Linked DNA regions of Homo sapiens: all the other regions are linked to region 3. Evidence: promoter capture Hi-C in human tissues and cell types (Jung and others, 2019). All regions are on one chromosome and are shown on one strand. The core of a region is centred on a gene start or on the middle of the fragment in contact, and the rest is flanking DNA. Distances in the headings are between cores, read along the strand shown. Region 1 overlaps LOC107985173 (a long non-coding RNA gene). Region 2 overlaps LDLRAD4 (low density lipoprotein receptor class A domain containing 4). Region 3 holds the start of AFG3L2 (AFG3 like matrix AAA peptidase subunit 2).

What was found. Contacts are between HindIII fragments. The study calls those that stand out against the background at their distance.
Region 1: a fragment that was not itself captured here is called in contact with the fragment with the promoter of AFG3L2 in region 3 in 1 of the 25 tissues and cell types used here (lymphoblastoid cells).
Region 2: a fragment that was not itself captured here is called in contact with the fragment with the promoter of AFG3L2 in region 3 in 1 of the 25 tissues and cell types used here (dorsolateral prefrontal cortex).

What each region holds. Positions count from the first base shown.
Region 1 is chr18:11,370,189-11,373,351 of GRCh38, forward strand. The region is part of intron 1 of LOC107985173 (a long non-coding RNA gene); the gene reads right to left. Among named protein-coding and RNA genes, the nearest start is that of LINC01928, 83 kb to the right of the region's middle. The HindIII fragment of the contact is 4,274 bases long and covers 1-3,163 here.
Region 2 is chr18:13,379,893-13,383,006 of GRCh38, forward strand. All of the region lies in intron 2 of LDLRAD4 (low density lipoprotein receptor class A domain containing 4), which reads left to right. Among named protein-coding and RNA genes, the nearest start is that of LDLRAD4-AS1, 46 kb to the right of the region's middle. RefSeq lists enhancers at 1-425, 426-925, 1,617-2,241. The HindIII fragment of the contact is 4,118 bases long and covers 1-3,114 here.
Region 3 is chr18:12,375,796-12,378,914 of GRCh38, forward strand. AFG3L2 (AFG3 like matrix AAA peptidase subunit 2) reads right to left here and starts at 1,432. Exons shown (of 17, transcript NM_006796.3): 1 at 1,174-1,432. The coding sequence starts at 1,287. RefSeq lists a silencer at 997-1,896 and enhancers at 1,669-2,200, 2,201-2,730. The HindIII fragment of the contact is 16,096 bases long and covers 1-3,119 here.

The DNA of each region.
Region 1 (3,163 bases), core at 373-2,872, 1.0 Mb before region 3:
TGATTATTTTTTAGATTAAAAATACTTGTGAAATTTTTTTTTTTTTTTGAGACGAAGTCCCGCTCAGTCGCCCAGGCTGGAGTGCAATGGCGCCATCTCGGCTCACCGCAAGCTCCGCCTCCTGGGTTCACGCCATTCTCCTGTCTCAGCCTCCCGAGTAGCTGGCAGTACAGGCGCCCGCCACCACGCCCGGCTAATTTTTTTGTATTTTTAGTAGAGACGGGGTTTCACCGTGTTAGCCAGGATGGTCTCGATCTCTTGACCTCGTGATCCGCCCATCTCGGCCTCCCAAAGTGCTGGGATTACAGGCGTGAGCCACTGCATCCGGCCAAATACTTGTGAAATTTTTGTGAAATGTAACTTTGCAAACTGTAGAGATGAACATACAGTGTCTTCTTTGGAACCCTTAATACTGTGAATTATTTTAGTCAGTCCTAATATTGAACCATCTTCAACTTCTTAGAATGATTAATAATTTTTATTTTTTAACAAATTATTTCTGAAAAATAAGACATTAAAGTTAAAACTTTATAATTTTATAGTTATAAAATTCACATAAAAATGAGTTTTTCTATATTCTTTAAATTTATCAACTGTTAACCTCTTACTATATTCATTCCCTGCTGCTTAGAGTTATATTTACTAAACTATTAGAGAGGAAGTTGCAGGTATCATTAACCTATTCCTCTAAATGCTTCAACATCTATGTACTAAAAACCAGATTATTCTCTTACACAATCACAGGGACAATTATCAAATTAGGAAATTGTTAATATTGACTCAATGCTATTATTTAAACGACAGTCTCCATTTAAATTTTGCCATTGTCCCCACAATGTTTTTTACAGCTTTTATTCCTCTGATCCAGGATCCAACCCAATCTGGTGCATTCAATTTAGTTGTCTTGTCCCTTTAGCCTGTTTTAATGTGGACACGTTTCTCCGGATTTATTTTTCTTTCATGACAGTGAAATTTTGAGTAATACAGGTCAATAGCTTACAGATTGCCCCTCAAATCTAGTCTTTCTGTTTCCTAATGATTAGACTCAGCTTATGCATTTTTAGCAGGAATACGGTAGAATTGACGCTGTGTCCTTTCAGCGCATCCCACCTATCAGGAGACATCGGATGTCAGTCTATCCATTTTTGGTCATGTGAACCTAGATACCATGATGCCTAAGAGGTTAAATTAACATTTTCTTTTTTGTAATTAATAAGTAATCTGTAGAGGTGGGCCAATACCCAAGATTACAAAGTATCTTTTTCTTATCTAAATTTTACCCATAAATTTTAGAATCTCTTAATGATTTTTGCCTGTATCAAATATTACTATGCTGGTTGCAACATAGTATTTCAAACTCTGTCATTTCTTTTGTATATTTATTGGTTGGCATTTTACTATAGGGAAGAGCTTTTGCCTCTTCTTAGCTCCTCCCTCTTGCTTTTCTTCCTTCCTTGCCCCGTCCTTGTGTTCCATGAACACATGAGTTCCTTTTACCACCAATGAGTTATAGTCCATTACTATCCTTATGTATTCTTTCATTGTACTGCCAGATCCATTTCTTAATGTTTTATTTATCTGCCATCAATATTTATAAGTGATACTGATCTATAGTCTTCCTGTTGTATACTACCTTTATCTGGTTTTAGTAAAGCTTTTATTTAGGTGTGCTAAGAGTAATCAACAAACTCTTGAACAATCAAAGTAACAGAAAAATTCATCTGTTTCTTCTAAGTTTGGAAAAACTTTCTTACAAAAGTTTTGAAAATGAGTAAATCTTTTGGTCTCTCTCTGTCAGTTTCATCAGTTGTGTGGTTATACTTTCATTTTATCCTAGATTTAATCTTGTCTAGTACTGATTGAGGTATTCTTTTATAAATATTTTATTTTTCTCAAATCTGGTTCTTTTTCTCTTCTCATTTCTAATTTGGCCTTCTTAATCTCTTCCTACTTACCTCTTGATTTAGCTATCTATTGAATTTTATTAGAATTATTATTTATTTTTCACTTAAATGTATAGCCCTTAATATATGTATCAATTCTATCTTTTTTTTTACTTACAATATACAACTTTATTAATTTTTCCCTTCTGCTTTTCCTAGGTTTGTTTTCCACTACTTTTTTACAAGCTAAGTTTTATTTTAAATTAGATTTTCCTCTGAGAAATAAGGTTTGGCAGTAAGTCATGAATTTTCATTTGGAATGCTCCTACTATCATTATTTTCAAAATATTCTGCAATTTCAGACTTGACTTCCTTTTTGGTCCTAAGGTTGTTTTTAAGCCGTTTTTATAATTTCAAAATGAGTGGGATTTTACTATTTTGTTTTTACAGTTGGTATTTATAATATTATTTCATAGCCAGAGATACGTAATTTTTACTCTTATTTTCTGTTTGTTTGTAATATAATATATTACTAGTTGTTATCAGTTCAGTGTCTGTTTATAAGGTGTACATTTAAATGTATTTTAGATACTTGATAAACCTTATCTCATTCAAATATTCTGTAGAGGTACTTATTATATATTTGATCATGAAGGACTGAGAAAAAGGTGTGTTAAACTCTCCTATTTGTGCTTTGTGTTGCTCTCTCTCTTTATAATGTATAATACTCCATACCAAAATAAAAAGAACTTTTCATGACTGAAATTTAACTTTATATTACATCCTCTGCTTTATATTTTATTTAAGTTTGCCTGTTGGTTCTCTGTTCAGTTTGTTATTGAGTAGATCAAATTTAACAGATGAAATGAAGCGAGGCCCAGACAAAAATGTGAGTGGGCAAAGACCAGGCTGCCTCTGTCCTCCCCTCCCGTCTTCTCCCACCCGGCAGAGTTCCTGCCACTGAGCTTTCCCTGCACAGATGAAAAGTAGTTAGGATGGAGGTTAGGGGTTAATGGGCTGCAAGAAGCCTTATCCCCCTAAGAGGTTTTGTCTAATTAAATAATTCAAACTTAAAGCTGTTGGAACTTTAAATTATTCTGAGCTTTGAAAGAAATGTGGCTATGTAGTAGCTTGAGTCATGTGACATGCAACTACAACTTCTGCACTTTTTTCCTGTAAATAGTTAGGAAGACAAAAAGGCACCTGAGATAAGACCTCCTCAGACCACTGCCCCTCATCAAAGAGTAATCAAGTAATCTTCCTTGGGATGTAGCAATCTG
Region 2 (3,114 bases), core at 321-2,820, 1.0 Mb after region 3:
CATTTTAAGCTGATTTTATCTGAAGAAAGCTGGAGTGGGGGAGATCCCTGGGTGTGGAGGATTGCAGAGGCCTGCCCCTGCCCGCCAGCCCCCTGCCCGCCAGCCCCCTGCCCGTCAGCCCGAGCCCTCACGCCAGGCCACAGTGGGAGCAGAACCTCTACGGGGGTGGGGCTGGGTTGGGAGGGGCATTGCCGCTGCTTGGCTGGTGGCCACAGTGGAGGTGTCTGTGATGTGCTCAGACCGGGCTCAGACCAGAATGCACGTCTGCTCAGGGATCATCTGCCCCTGGGCCAAGCCCTGACCCTTTCCCATTCCCTTGTGCATGTGGGTGCTGTGGGAATGGCCTGGTTCGGGCCCTGGAAAGCAGAGATCTTCCCAGTATTCCCTGATTCCCAGCGAGCGGCTGGTGCAGGTGTGCACGGCTGTCTTCCTAGCATTGCAGGCTCTCCCTCCTGAGCCAGTGTCTCCTGTGGCCGCTGTGTGTAGACAGTGGAACTGGAAGCTTGGGCCAGGATCCAGACACCTGGTTCCAGCCCTGGCTTGCATTCCTCCCACACTCATCTTCAACCTGTCCCCTCTCCCTGAGCCTCTGGATCGCCTCCTCCACAAAGCACAGGGGTCGGATATATGACTCCTTGCGGCTTCCTCTGCTGCTAGATCATATGAGTCGATAATTATAGACTTACTAATGCATTAAGGACAGTTATCCTGTTTATTTTAGGGGGAACTCTCTCCAACTTGGTTTGAATATAGCCTCAGGATTTATCAAGTGTTGGATTTGTCAAGGTGACATTTTAAAGAATGTTCTAATATAATTATTGCTTTTCCTGTTTGCAGCCTGTGTGTGTCTTTGAATCGATGTTTTGGGTTTTGTACTTGCTTCCTGAATTGGTGACCTACAGCAAGGCACTACGCTACCCTGAACTACATTATGCTGAACAAGTAACCAGATCCCACTGAGCTACCCAGGGTGAGGATGGCTTGGAGGTTGTGTTACAAAAGCTACATGTTATTTTGCCCCCCCACATCACAGAGATGAAAAGTAGCATGAAAAATTCATCACACTCCAACTCAGTCTTCCCTGGCTATAGGCAGCCTGTTTCTCTGACTTGCTCTCAGATTTGCATTTCCATGTGGATTTTCTGTGCTTCTGCACTGTGTCCCTTTCTTTTGTTTCTCTTTAGTTTTTTTTTTTTTTTTGAAGAGACAGGGTCTTGCTATGTTGCCCAGGCTGGAGTGCAGTGGTGCAGTCACAGCTCACAGCAGCTTTGAACTCATGGGCTCAAGCAGTCCTCCTGCCTCAGCCTCCCCAGTATAGGTGTGCACAGCCATGCCCAGCTAATTTTTATATTTTTAGTAGATATGGGGACTTTCTATGTTGGCTAGGTGGGTTTCAAACACCTGGGCTCAAGCAATCCTCCTGCCACAGCCTCCCAAAGCACTGGGGTTACAGGCGTGAGGCACCGTGCCCGCCCACTGTATCCTTTTTTATGCCCATTTGCCCTCTCTCTCGGCCAGAGACATGGCCATAGGGGACTTTTTGGAATGGGAGGGACCTCCAGTTTCACCTCCTCATTGTATAAAAGAGGAGATGGGAGCCAGGGCCGGGAGTCACCACGGGTACCAGAAGCAGAGTGGGTCCCCTACCTGGGGCTCTCTGCCTACGGCTGGCTGCCTGGAGGCAGAGGTGTTTTATTTGTAGCACCTCCTTTTCTTTACTGTTAGGAGATCTTGAGACTGACTGGCCGTTGCCAAGGTCTGCACTATCCATGAGCTCTGAGGCACTCACATGGAGACGTGTGACATCTCCCTTGGTGGGACACCTGGTCCCAGCTCAAGTTGGAAATAGCTTCTCAAGGGTCTTTTCCCCACTTTTTCTCCCATCTGTCTCATGACAAGCCCTTTGCCTCTTTGATCCTAAATGAACATAGGGTGAGATGATGCATAGGTGAGCTGTGCCGTGCAGCTCTCAAACATGGTCATTTTTATTTTTTTTAAATTTTGCAGCAGAGCCCCAGTTTGCCGAGGTTTAGAATGACCTCTTTGGTTGGCAGCGTTCCTTTCTCCCTGGAACTTCTCTGGTGGGTAGAGTGGCCAGGGATCGGCATCCACAGGCCGGGGCTCGGCCCTGAGCGTCTGTGGGGCCTGGAGCAGTCGCCATGGCTGTGGAGCTGTCACCTAGGTAACCGACATTCCGCCAGCGAAACAGTCTGTCCACAGCAGGAGGAAATAAAAAATGAAACTGCAGCGTCAATTCTTTATGCACTACGGTTTTTTGAGTGCTACTTTGATTTTGGAAAAAAGGCTGTTTCACTTCTCCATTGGATTTTGGCCTCCGTGCCCCTGTGTGACCCTCACATTTCCTGAACCCCATGTATCTGTTTTTACAGTGTCTTTTAATGAAAGATATAATACGGACACAGTTCAGTTTGTATTCCTGAATGACTCTGAGGAGGACTGCGTTTCATATAAGTTTTTGTGAATAACTGGTAAGGCAGACATACCCTGTAACTTACTTGGTTAGGTTTGTGAGTGTTCATGTTTTTAAAATGTCCCTTCCTGTGGGGGTGTTTTTCCATTTGACGTGCTCTATTTCCTTAGTAACTGTTGCTCTGTTATGGGAGGGACTTAATGACATTTTTCAAGTGCAATATTGAATTAATTTATTTCCTGGTTAGTCCTGCCCATCTTCCCAGTATAAATAGAACCTCCATGTGTGTGTGCGTGTGTGTGTGCGTGTGTGTGCGTGTGTGCATGTGTGTGCGTGTGTGTGTAGAATGATGACCATGTGCTTGCTGCCTTGGGGGGGATCTTGACTGTGACCTTGCGTCCTGGGTAAGTTGCCTCTTCCTGTATTCCCCCCTCTCCTTCTCTCTTGATTTAAGCTACTTGGGTTTAGGGAGCTTCCTGGGCCTCAGGAGTAGCATGGGAAGCAGTGCCTTCAGGGCAAGAGGCCCAGGGTCAGTCCTGCTCTCCTGCTGCCAGTGTTGGGCGCAGTTCTTGCGCCTCCATGGGGCAGCGCTTGCTCTCTCTCTGTAGCCTGAGGGCATTTAAGTCAATGACCTCTGAAGGCCTTTGCTGGATAGGACTTTGTGGGAAGTGTAAGTGCAGCAG
Region 3 (3,119 bases), core at 182-2,681:
GCTGGGATTACAGCCGTGAGCTACCGCGCCTGGCCTCTCCAGAAACTTTTTAAAAATCAACCACGGTGCTGTAGTCCCAGATACTCCGGAGGCTGAGGCGGGAGGATCGCTTGAGTTTGGGGCTGCAGTGAGCTGTGTTTGCGCCGCTGCACTCCGGCCTGGGCGAAGAAGCAAAACCCCGTCTCTTAAAAAATAAAAATAAAAATAAAAATCGTAGATCGGAGGGTCTGCTACCCTACCCAAGCTGGTTTCCAACTCCTGGAGTCAAGCGATTCTCCCGCCTCGGCCTCCCTAAGTGCTGGGATCGCAGGCGTGAGCCCCGGCACTAGCCTATCTCCCCTTACAGTGAAGACGTTGAGCTGACTACAAGGGCGCTGGGATAGCAGGAGGCCAAGCCAGGTTCCCGTGGCCGACCCGGGGACCTCAACCACCACCCGTACACCAGTGCAAGGCTGAGGAACCGTGTCACTTAAACAGTGAGAGCGACTATTCGACACGTGAACCTTTCATTGAGACTGATCACGGCCATGGTTCTGTCAACACTCTATCATTATGTCAGAAACACGTATCAGGTCCCGTGTGTGTATCTAGAGGGATGGCTACCAACAGAGAAAGAGCCTCCTGCTGAGAGCAGGCCCTGATATGCAACGAACACAGAGTCCCTGCTATGAAAAGGTGACATTCTTAATAATAATAGCTAATACTGCCAGTCCTGGAATGCCCGCAATGGCCCCATTCAACAGACGGGAACACGGAGACTCGGAGAGGTTAGGCAGCCCGACTCCAAAACCCGTCCTTGCGACTACATCGTGCTCGTGCTGCTGACTCAAAATTACAGACGCCTTCGTTCCGTGCTCCGGGGACACGAAAGCGGGGACAAGGACGGCCACCAAGCCAACATGACCTTCGAGGCTTCAACCGCCCCGGTGAAGCGCGAAAACCCGGCTCTACTGAAGCTGCGCGTTTTCAAAACTTGAATCCCACAGGCAGGGCTGAGCGCGAATCGGCGCTCCCGGGGCCGGCTGAGAGACAGCGCAGGGCGCCCAGGCCCTCGGCAGGGACGGCCCGCGTGCGGCCGGAGGGCGGGGGCCAGTGACCTTGACGTCCGCTCTCCCGAGCCGGAAGTGGGCCCGAGGCAGGGTGGAGGGCGCCGGGCGCCCAGGTAGGACTCACCGTCCGGAGGCAGGGCTGCTCGCCCGGGCCCACGCCGCCAGGCACGAGGAGCTGCTGTAGGCCGCGGGGCCAGCAGCCGCCCCGGCCCCACAGCCGCAAACAGCGGTGCGCCATGGCCGCCGCCGTGGCCCTCTCGGCCCGGGACGCTGCGCAGGCGCGGGCAGGCGACGACTGGCGGCCTCGGGAAGCGGGCTCGGCTCGGGGAAAGGCCGCCAGGCAGCGAAGCGCGCCGGCGGCTCACGGAGGAGCCCAAGCTCTCAACGCGGCGTCTCCTGCCGCCAGCCCCGCCCCGGCGCGCTGACGTCGGCGTCTCCTCTCCGAGGCCCGCCGCGACCTCCGCCAGTGCAGAAGACAGGACCAAATGGGAGGAGCATGGGGGCGGGACCGGAGGCGGGGGCCGACGGAGCAGCGTTGGGGGCGCGGCAGGAGGCGGGGCCGAGAAGGACCCTGGAGGGCAAGGGGGAGCTAGAGGCGGGGACCGGGCCGAGGGAGGACTCGGGAGGGCGAGCGAGAGCTGGGGGCGGGGCTGATGGCGCACGTGGGGGGCGTGGCTGGAGGTGGGGCCGAGGAAGGACTAGGAGAGCGAGCAGGAGCTGGAGGCGGGGCCGACGGAGGGGTGTGGGGGGCGTGGCTGGAGGCGGGGACTAAGGGGAGACGCGTGACTGGGATCCTGGGCTTCCGAGCCTGGGCAGCCGGGTGGGCCAGCCAGTAGGAGCGAGGGGGAAGTAGCGAAGGCCCCAGCGGCGGCAGATGGAAGGACCCTCCGAGCGCCAGCTGAGTCATGGGGTGGTGCTAGGCTCTGGAGACACCGAAGCACACATTCCTGACCCCTGGGAGGGCGATGCGAAGATTCACAAGCAGCAGGGAATGTTGGGGCTGTGCCGTGCAGCCTGCGCTCTAGGAACCCTGTCGGGGAACTGGTTCTCGGAGAGCAAGTCGAGTCTTCCAGGTAGTGGAAACTACACATTGTTTCCTGTACCGTGACAGCGGAGGAAAAAGGAGAGGTCTTTGAACTGAGGTGGGGGACTTGGGGGTTTTTCTGAGACGGGCTCTCGCTCTGTCGCCCAGGCTGGCGACGCTGGACCTCAGGCAAAGGACAGTAATCCTTGAGAGACAGGAGACAAAACCAGGTGAGTCCTGTGATTACCCCAGTGGCAGTAAAACAATAACAAAAAGATATACCAGATACACCATCATACCATGCTCACACAAAAGAAAACTGAGTAGACAAATAGATTTTAGGGCAAGGAAATTCCAAAGAAAATTAATTGCAGGGAAAAGAATATCACTAAGGATGAAGAGGATCGGGTTTCTTTTCCAGAGACAGGGTCTCAGTCTGTCACTTAGGCTGGAATGCCATGGTGCAATCGTAGCTCACTGCAGCCTCTAACTCCTGGGCTCAAGGGATCCTCCTGCCTCAGCCTCCCAAGTAGCTGGGACCACACACGCTCGACCACACTCGACTTTTTTTATTTTGTGTAGAGTTGAAGTCTCACTTTGTTGCCCAGGCTAGTCTCAAACTCCTGGCTTTAAGCAATCCTCCTGACTCAGCCTCCCAAAGTGCTGGGATTACAGATGTGAGCCACCCACATCTGGCCAAGAGAATTATTATTATTATTATTATTATTATTATTATTATTATAAAGGGGTCAGTTCATCAGTAGGACATAACAACCCTAAACATCTTTGTTCCCATTAACAGAAGCTTAAAATACATGGAGCAAAGACTGACAGAACCACAACTTCCAATTATATTTGGAGATTTCAAATCCTTCTTTTGATAATTGACAGAACAATTAGACAGGAAAATAGTAAGTATATAGAAGACTTAAACACAACCAACTAAATCAAATAGACATTTATAGAAAACTACTCATAACAACAGAATACACATTATTTTCAAGTTTTCACAGAGCACTTATCAAAATAAACCATATTGTAGGCCA